Regions from separate parts of the Homo sapiens genome. Here region 1 is linked to region 2. The links are contacts of gene promoters, found by promoter capture Hi-C in blood cells and fetal thymus (Javierre and others, 2016). All regions are on one chromosome and are shown on one strand. The core of a region is centred on a gene start or on the middle of the fragment in contact, and the rest is flanking DNA. Distances in the headings are between cores, read along the strand shown. Region 1 overlaps ZNF559 (zinc finger protein 559). Region 2 holds the start of UBL5 (ubiquitin like 5).

Region 1 (4,755 bases), core at 289-2,788, 490 kb before region 2:
GTTTTCAAGTGTCTTATGGTTATTTTCTTATATTTTCTTGCCAGAACCAGTTCTGAGTCTGTAAATATACATTTATATGTGTGTGTGTGGTAGGGGAGGTGGAGGATGATATTACTTATCCATTCATCTATTTTTTTCCATAGTACTTGTCACCAATTGACATAATACATATTTATGGCTGGACACAGTGGCTCATGCTTATAATCCTAGCACTTTGGGAGGCTGAGGCAGGCGGATCACCTGAGGTTGGGAGTTCGAGACCAGCCTGACCAACATAGGGAAACCCTGTCTCTACCAAAAATACAAAATTAGCTGGGGTTGGTGGTGCATGCCTGTAATCCCAGCTACTCGGGAGGCTGAGGCAGGAGAATGGAGTGAACCTGGGAGGCAGACCTTGCTTGCAGTGAGCCAAGATCGCGCCACTGCACTCCAGCCTGGGCGACAGAGCGAGACTCCATCTCAAAAAAAAAACAAAAAAAAACTTATGTGTTTATTATCTGCTTAGCCCTTTAGAATGTGAGATACTTAAGGTCTAGGACATTTTTTGTATAGTTGACTGCTCTATCCTAAGTGTCTAGTACATTACCTCACAAAGATAAGGTCCTTCATAAATGTTTGCAGAGTGAATGAAAGCGTAAGCCAGAGATGAGGACTTGAAGGGAAGCCACCTGGCCTACATGATTTTTACAGCTGGAGGAGCTAAAGATGTCTAAATTCAATAAGCCATTTGTGTTGGGGGTCCTCAAGACCACCACCCTCACGCTCAGTGATGGAAGCACTCACAGGACTCAGAAGCTATTAAACCTACAGTTATGGTTTATTATAATAAAAGGGTACAGATTAGAATCTGCAAAGGGAAAAGATGAATGAAGTCTAGAAGAAACCAGGCTTCTCTCCCATGTAGTCACATGGACAGTGCTTAATTCTCCTAGTAAAAGTGTGTAGTATTCCTGCAAACTGTTGCCAACTAGGGAAGCTCACCTGAGCTTTGGTGTCCAGGATTTTTACTGAGGGTTAGTCCCGTAGGCATACAGCACCTGAATGACTTCATACACTTATGCCCAGCCCCTCAACAGTTCAAACTCATGCATTATTGCCAGAAGCCTCAGGCATACAAAAACAGGCCTTCAGCATAAATCATATTGTTAGCATACACAATCTGGTCACACTAGTATAGTTTGGCTCAATAGCTCAACCATAGAAAAATATACACTTACCAGGGAAGATATTCCATAAGCTAAAAGGTCATCTCTCACAAACTGAGCCAAGTGTCAGTCCTGAAGACAGATCTTTCTCAAGAGAGTGCAGGGTTTGGGCAACCCAGGCCTGTTGAGTTAACCTTTCCGTACATCATTTCATGACGATCTCATGGTCACGTTGGAGAATAAGAAGAACCTCAGGAGTTTAGGTTTGTGAGTCAGAGTAACCTGTATTCATATCCTGGCTCACACTTTCTAATTGGTGATGTTGGGTTAATTAGTGTCTGAGCTTAGGTTTCCTCAACTAATATGATAGTAACAAAAACTGCTTTGATAATTATATGAACTTATCCTACCACTGTTTCTGGCACATGGGTACTAGGTAAACGGGATTTGTTATTATTTATGTCCACGTGGCATAATACTCTAGTGGCACTCACATGAACAACTTCATCTTCTGCAGAGAGATGGCTAATGAATGGCGCTTGATGACAGATGAGTAATGCCTGTTGCTGAAAGATTGACGGTATGAGGCAAGACTCCCACTACTACTTAATCAAGAGGAATTGAGATTGACTTACCCATAAGTTCAGACAGTGTCTCGAAGAGACTTTGGGAACAAGATATTCAGGCACATTTCACTGTTAGACTCACAGGATGCTGGCCATTGGTCTTTCCCTTTGTGGTAAGTCCGTATTGATGGTCCTTCAAGACGCTGCTTTAACCAGTCTGTGAACAGCTTGTCTTGTGATTAGGGTTTAGGGTCTAAGTGGCCCTGCTTTTGAGATACCTAGAAGAGGCTAAAGTAGATACGAATATTCTGTGGTCTAAATCCTGGGATTTGGGAAGGAGGAGTAAGTATGCAGGCTTTTGTGGAAGAAGTTCTGCTTAATCACATGATCAGTTTCTTTTTTGGCAAATAAGGAAAATGTTAACTTCTCTGGACTTTGTATTCCTTATAAAATGGGATTGTTAAACTCTCTCTCTCCTGGTCATCAAAGCCTGAAGCATATTTTCTGGCTTCAGGTGAGACAGGCTGCTCAGGCATTTTATTATAACGTGTGTGTGTCCACTTAGCATTAGTATGAGGTGGCTTCTTGCCTTGTGAGTATGGAAGCTATCAGCAGCCTGGATTCTCAGATTTTATTTCTTCTTCTTAAGATCATCTTTCTCAAGATGTTTTCTGTCTTCATGAGTCAAAATTTGAAGAGGAAAGGATGGTGGCTGGGTGGTTGACAAATTACTCTCAGGTAAGTAGGAAATTGCTTTTTCTGTAGAAGCATATGCTTCTTCCTACCATGTAGATGTGTTTTCTCCTAGTGGAACAGGGCCCCTGCAAGCAAAGAGGGTCTGCTTAGGGACCACATCTCTCATCAAACTTCTTCGGACCACAGGGCCTCTCACATGGTTGACAGGTTTCACAGGGAAATGATTGTACTATCCCACTGTTTACTAATTCAGTCTGACTGTCATCCATGCTGATATGCTTTCATTTTGCTGTGATAGGGAGAGAATGCACATGTGCTTCTCGGAATTTGTGCTGTCACTGGAGCATTTATTTGAGTGTCTATAATGTATTCAGGGTTGTGCTAAAACCTGTCAGTAGAGAACAATAAGAAGAAGTCACAATCTAGTTGTGCTGAGATATATTCAGTTAGGTGAAAGAGGTGCTCTTCAAGCCATATGACTAGATGAGATCACCGGTGAATATGTACAGACAGGGGAGAAGAAAGTGAGGACCATCAAGTGATAGGAGACCAAAGAGTCTTGTCAAGGCATGCCAAGACAAGGTCCCTCATTCTCCAGTCAACATAGTGGAGAACGTACTTGCCTGACGCCAGCATGTGTGTGATGGTTTAGGACTCAGTGACCTTTGAGGATGTGGCTGTGGACTTCACCCAGGAGGAGTGGACTTTGCTGGATCAAACTCAGAGAAACTTATACAGAGATGTGATGCTGGAGAACTATAAGAATCTAGTTGCAGTAGGTAAGGCTGGTACCATTCTTTTCATTTAGTTTTTTTCTGGAACAAATGTGTCTTAAGTAACTATGTTCTAGACTCTGCTTGTTAATGGGCTGCATTGGTAAACAGGCGAAACATTGTTTCCATCTCATAGACCTTACTGCCTTGTGATTTTTCTGATGAAATTGAAGATCTGTTCATTGTTCTAGCTTTATTTTCTCCATGGATAAAAGACTTAGAGCTTCTTGAATATGTGTATGAGCTTAAGCCTGGGTTTCATGGGAAGGATTGCTAGTCCTTTTGGTGAACAGTGAATGAGAAAAGAGTATTTGAAGTTTAGGTTCACTTGAAAGTTTTTGTCATGAACATTGTGTTGTAATTTAAGTTATATCTGAGAGGGTTCAGAATGCCCAGACAGCAAAATCTTAGCTCTTAACATGGAAGCATTTGTTATCCCTTGCACATTCTTTACTTTTTTTTTTTTTTTTTTTGAGACAGAGTCTTGCTCTGTCACCCAGGCTGGAGTGCAGTGGCGTGATCTTGGCTCACTGCAAGCTCCGCCTCCCGGGTTCACACCAGTCTCCTGCCTCAGCCTCCCGAGTAGCTGGGACTACAGGCGCCCACCACCACGCCTGGCTATTTTTTTTTTTTTTTTTTTTTTTTTGTATTTTTAGTAGGAACAGGGTTTCACTGTGTTAGCCAGGATGGTCTCGATCTCTTGACCTTGTGATCCGCCCACCTCGGCCTCCCAAAGTGCTCGGATTACGGCATGAGCCACTGTGCCCAGCCATCCCTTGCACATTCTAACATCATTCATCTTTCCCTGAGACCAGGGTACTAGCTATGCAAACATAGTTTGACTTTTCAGGTGAAACAAGAAGAGTTAAAGACAGCGCAGAAAATTCTCCAAGATGAGAGAAAAGACAGATGTGATTATTTGTGAGAAACAGCCCTGATCTATGAGAGGTGCAGTCTGTTTATAAATATTAAGTAGGAAGGTTTTGAAAGTGTACTTTTTTGGGGAGAATATCAAGGCCAATTGGTTTCCAAGGTTCCTTGGGTACCTTAACTTCTCTTTCACTTTATCCATCTTGGAAACTTTCTTTTGCTCTGACATTAAGATCTGTCTCACTTCTCCTTTAAATTTATGATTTGCATTTAGCTCTGTATCCATTTCCTTTCAACTTTGTTTCCCTGGCTGTACCTCTTTTTTGTTCACTATAAAGTCTCAATGTTTAGAGAACCATTTCTTTTTTTTCTCTCTCTGTCTCTAAAAAAAAAAAAAAAAAAAAAAAAGAGTCTTGCTCTATCGCCAGGCTGAAATGCAGTGGCGCGATCTCAGCTCACTGCAACCTCTGCCTTCCGGGTTCAAGTGATTCCCCTGCCTCAGCCTCCTGAGTAGCTGGGACTACAGGTGCATGCCACCTTGCCTGGCTAATTTTTTTTTTTTTTTTGTATTTTAGTAAAGATGGGGTTTCACCATATTGGCCAGGACTCAATCTCCTGACCTTGTGATCCACCTGTCTTGGCCTCCCAAAGTGCTGGGATTACAGGTGTGAGCCACCACACCCAGCCTAGAGAACCGTTTCTTAG
Region 2 (4,772 bases), core at 16-2,515:
TAAATAAATAAATAAAATTAAAAAAAAAACAGTAAAAATCCCACGGCCGGGGAAATCAGGACCAAACCAGTAAGGAGCAGCTCTTTAGGCATAAGCACGCGCATTAAAGACAAAAAGTATCCTTAACATGATAAGGATAACCAGCTCATTAGCGCTCATGCATATGGACGGCATATCATGAATGGAGGCGGCTCTCAAGCACACAGGGGCCAAAGTAAGCAACACACCTATCATTCAAAAAGGTAGACACTGGCTAGATATTAGGCAGCCTTGGGAAGAGAAAAAAAGCCTGGCCAATAAGGTGAAACCCCATCTCTACTAAAAGTACAAAAATTAGCCGGGCGTGGTGGCGGGCGCCTGTAATCCCAGCTACTTACTCGGGAGGCTGAGGCAGGAGAATCGCTTGAACCCGGAAGGCGGAGGTTGCGGTGAGCCGGCACCGCGCCATTGCACTCCAGCCTGTGCAACAGAGCGAGACTACGTCTCAGAAAAAAAAAAAAAAAAAGACCCAAACTATACCAAGCTGGGGCTGATCTTATCTCGCAGAGGTCAGTCCGCTCTCCCCACTCCGAGAGTGGAATACTGTGCTTAATAAACTTGCAGCTTTGCCATCTCTGTGTGTCTGGTCCAAATCTTTCTTCAGGACACCAAGAGCCTGGAACTGTCCGGCACCATGCGGTAACAGCAGCTGTTGGGCAGCGTAGAGTCTACTCTAGGATCAAGCTTCGCCTACTGACTGGAGTCCGTATCCCGGGGGAACGCGATGGCCAGAGGGAAGAGGTGAGCCAAATGCTCACCAAGCCCAGCCCTGAATGAACCCAGGGGGTCAGAAGGGATGACTGCAGAACTCGTCCCCCACCCCCACCCTCCGCCCTTGCTCCTAGTTGCCGCTGCAAGAGGCTTCGGGCTCAGGATCAGGAGCTTACCCCTACTCCCGGGACCCTCTGGCGTCCCCACCATGTGACCGAGTCTCCCTGCAACAAACAATGACTTCAAACGAGCTGGGCGCCGGCGCCTGACCTCTGACTCTCGCTCCACGCCCCTTCCCTGGCCACAAACCCGCCGAGGCCCCCCTCTCTACCCGGCGCGCCTACCACAGGCGCGACACCTGTCAAGCCTTGGGACACCGAAACCGTACCTGGGAACAGCAAACACACCACAGACTGCAGACCCGGAAGAACTTGTCCCAGTGTTGACCACACCCCCTGGCTAGGGGCAGGGCTTCCGGCCTCGAACTTTAACTTCCGCTTCCGGTTCCTAGCGTTAACTGCGACCGGGGTTCAGCGCTCGGGTGAGGAGCTGGTGGCGTCGGCAGGTTCGAGGCGATTCGAGGTGAGGGGGTCAAGCGGAGAGGCTCGGAGTCGGAGAAAGCTGTCGCGACCCAGCCACCCAGGGTCTGGGGTCGGTGGGAGGTGAGGCCAGGGAGTTTTGTGGCAGGGCTTTCAGGCGGCGAGAAGGGGCGGAGGCGCGGCTCCCCGGGGTTCGCGGCCCTGGGACAGGGGACTTGGGGCCTGGGAGTATTCGAGTCCGGGGGGTTGGGGGCAGAACGGAAGGCTCAGTAACCTGGAATTTTAGGGCCTGGGACTGGGAGACTTGTAGGCTGGGGCTTCTGGGCCTGGGAGACGCCTGAAGCTCTGACTTTGCTGCCTCCCACCCACCCCCCGCTTTGTGTAGCTCCAGCTAGGATGATCGAGGTTGTTTGCAACGACCGTCTGGGGAAGAAGGTCCGCGTTAAATGCAAGTATCCACTGGCAGCCGAGAGGCAGTGGTACCCGCAGGGGTGCTTGGCGTGAGGCAGGCAACTCAATCTGTGTTGTCGGATGGTTTTAGTTAAACCCGGGAGAGGGGGCGGATGGGGTCCTGGCAGATGGTATTCTGCCCTAGAATGTCCTCTTCCTCGTTCTACCGCTTCCATTTGCCTTAACTGCTCTGCGCCCAGCACGGATGATACCATCGGGGACCTTAAGAAGCTGATTGCAGCCCAAACTGGTACCCGTTGGAACAAGATTGTCCTGAAGAAGTGGTGAGTGCAGCGGTAGAGCCACTGGGTGGACTGGACTAGGCCGGAAGGTTTTGGTTGGGGGAGCGCTGCAGGCAGCCCTTTGCTTAGGCTTGGCTACCTCATTTGGCCTACAGACTGAAGAGCCTCCTTAGCCTTATCTCTGAAATGTCTCTTTTTCTTAGGTACACGATTTTTAAGGACCACGTGTCTCTGGGGGACTGTATCCTTTGTGTGACTTTTTGAGGAAGCATCTACATACCCAGCCTCGGTTATCTGTTCAAAACTAAAGTCTGCATGAGCTTATGCATATTAAGTGTTTAACTTAATACGTGGCACATGGTGAGCACTTAGAAAATGGGAGCTAGGTAATTATTTGGTTGGGGAGGAGAGTGGTTGGTGAAATAGTTTGACTTCAAGTTCAAAATATTTATTACTGACCTCCACCTGAGTGCTGGACAGTAGGTCAGGGTGGGGTGAGACTCAGGCATATCTATTGTGCAAAAGGAGCAGAAACTTTTTACAATTTTTATTTTATTTATTTATTTTTTTGAGACAGTCTGGCTCTGTCGCCCAGGCTGGAGTGCAGTGGCACGATCTTGACCCACTGCAACCTCCACCTCCCGGGTTCAAGCAATTCTGCCTCAGCTTCCCAAGTAGCTGGGATTACAGGTGTGTGCCACCACTCCCTGCTAGTTTTTGTATTTTTAGTAGAGATGAGGTTCCACCATGTATGCCAGGCTAGTCTCAAACTCCTGGCCTCAAGTGATCCTCCCGCCTCGGCCTCCCAAAGTGCTGGGATTATAGCCGTGAGCCACTGTGCCTGGCCTAGAAGGAACAGAAACTTTTTTTTTTTTTTTTGAGATGGAGTTTTGCTCTTGTTGCCCAGGCTGGAGTGCAGTGGTACAATCTTGGCTCACTGCAGCCTCTACCTCCCAGGTTTAAGCGATTTTCCTGTCTCAGCCTTCCAAGTAGCTGGGATTACAGGTGCCCACCACCACACCCAGCTAACTTTTTGTATTTTTAGTAGAGACAGGGTTTCATCGTGTTGGCCAGGCTGGTCTCAAACTCCTGACGTCAAGTGAGCCACCTGCTTCGTCCTCTCAAAGTGCTGGGATTACAGGTGTGAGCCACTGCACCCAGCCAGAAATTCTTTTGTAAAGTTTTGGTTCTCTCCAAATAAAAATGGCCTGGTCCAAAATGGGCTTCCTTAGCCCTGGGCTGAGACCTCAGGCCACCTGACCCGGCTGTGAATGGATGAGAGGGGTGGGGACGGAAGTCAGAGTCAGGATTCCTTAACACCTTTCCTTCAGATGAAATCCACGATGGGATGAACCTGGAGCTTTATTATCAATAGATGAGAATCCTCATCTTCCTGCCCCGCTTTCCTCTCCCATCCTCATCCCCCACACTGGGATAGATGCTTGTTTGTAAAAACTCACCTTAATAAAGACTTAGATGTTGCTTTGTTGTTGTCTCTGTATGACAGCTGTCTAGTGATGGGTGGATCAGTCGCTGTTTGGTCATCACTGCACCATCAGCATGCAGCTGCTAAAATAAGAGCTCTGATCAACTGGATCCATGAGGGCAGAGTAGACCAGCAGGCTGGGAGTCTGTGTGGGAGCCCAGAGAGAGCTCTGGGGTTTGCTGTGGGTGTCTGAAGGTCAAGAGACTCTGGGATTATTGTCACCCTAATAAACCAAAGAACCTCCGGCTAATGACAGTAGATGTAATTGTTAGGAATTCAGATTCTGAAATCACACAGACCATGTGTGGAATGTCAGCTCTGCCACCAAGCAGCTGAGTGACACTAGGCAAAATTTTTTAACCTCTGTAAGCCTTTACTTCCTTATCCACTGGAAATAATTGCGTTTACTTCATGTCTGCTTTCAATCGGCATATTGTGAGGAGGTATAAATGAGTTTAAAGCATGTTTAAACATCCACAGTTCCTGGCATTTTTTTTTTTTCTTTTTTTGAGACAGGATCTTGCTCTGTCACCCAGGCTGGAATGCAGTGGTATGTTCATAGCCCACTGCAGCCCTGAACTGGACTCAACACAGTCCTCCTGCATCAGCCTCCCAAGTAGCTGGGCAGTGTGTACCACCACGCCAGCTAATTTTAAAATTATTATTATTATTTATTTTATTTGAGACAGAGTCTCGCTCTGTCACCCAGGCTGGAGTGCAGTGGCACGATCTCAGCTCACTGCAACCTCTGCCTCCTGGGTTCAAGCAATTCTCCTGCCTCACCTGAGGCAGGAGACTGGGACTACAGGCGTGCCCCATGACACCAGTTAATTTTTGTATTTTTAGTAGAGATGGGGTTTCACCATGTTGGCCAGGCTGGTCTCAAACTGCTGACCTCAAGTGGTCCACCCTCCTCGGCCTCCCAAAGTGCTGGGATTACAGGCGTGAGCCACCGCGTCTGGCATTTTGAAATTTTTTGTACAGACAGGGTCTCCCCTATGTTGCCCAAAATAGTCTTGAACTCCTGACCTCAGGTGATCCTCCAGCCTTGGCCTCCCAAAGTACTGAGATTATAGGCACAAGCCATCATGCCTGGCCCTAGCACTTCTTTTCAAGACAAAACGTGATAGTAGACAGTGAGGCAGTGTGGCACTATAAGTGTGGCTACATGATCCCAGCCTCAAGAGTCAGACCGACTAGATTTGAATTTTGATTGATCCTTAGCAGTGGGATTTCAGCCTCTGCGACCCTCAGTTTCATCCTCTAAAAATGAGCACTACAGTGGCACCCACATCTCAATGAGAC

The links. Contacts are between HindIII fragments. The CHiCAGO score rates a contact against its expected background, and 5 or more counts as called.
Region 1: a fragment that was not itself captured here is called in contact with the fragment with the promoter of UBL5 in region 2 in 1 of 17 cell types (neutrophils); the score reaches 6.9 in neutrophils.

What each region holds. Positions count from the first base shown.
Region 1 is chr19:9,336,134-9,340,888 of GRCh38, forward strand. ZNF559 (zinc finger protein 559) reads left to right here. Exons shown (of 7, transcript NM_032497.3): 3 at 1,663-1,725; 4 at 2,361-2,449; 5 at 3,060-3,186. The coding sequence starts at 2,417. ZNF559-ZNF177 (ZNF559-ZNF177 readthrough) reads left to right here. Exons shown (of 13, transcript NM_001384659.1): 3 at 1,663-1,884; 4 at 2,361-2,449; 5 at 3,060-3,186. Among named protein-coding and RNA genes, the nearest start is that of ZNF559-ZNF177, 14 kb to the left of the region's middle. The HindIII fragment of the contact is 9,717 bases long and covers 1-4,755 here.
Region 2 is chr19:9,826,653-9,831,424 of GRCh38, forward strand. UBL5 (ubiquitin like 5) reads left to right here and starts at 1,266. Exons shown (of 5, transcript NM_001048241.3): 1 at 1,266-1,332; 2 at 1,675-1,741; 3 at 1,940-2,023; 4 at 2,185-2,222; 5 at 3,313-3,463. The coding sequence starts at 1,686. The coding sequence ends at 3,356. RefSeq lists enhancers at 848-1,572, 983-1,032 and a silencer at 1,076-1,382. The HindIII fragment of the contact is 5,434 bases long and covers 722-4,772 here.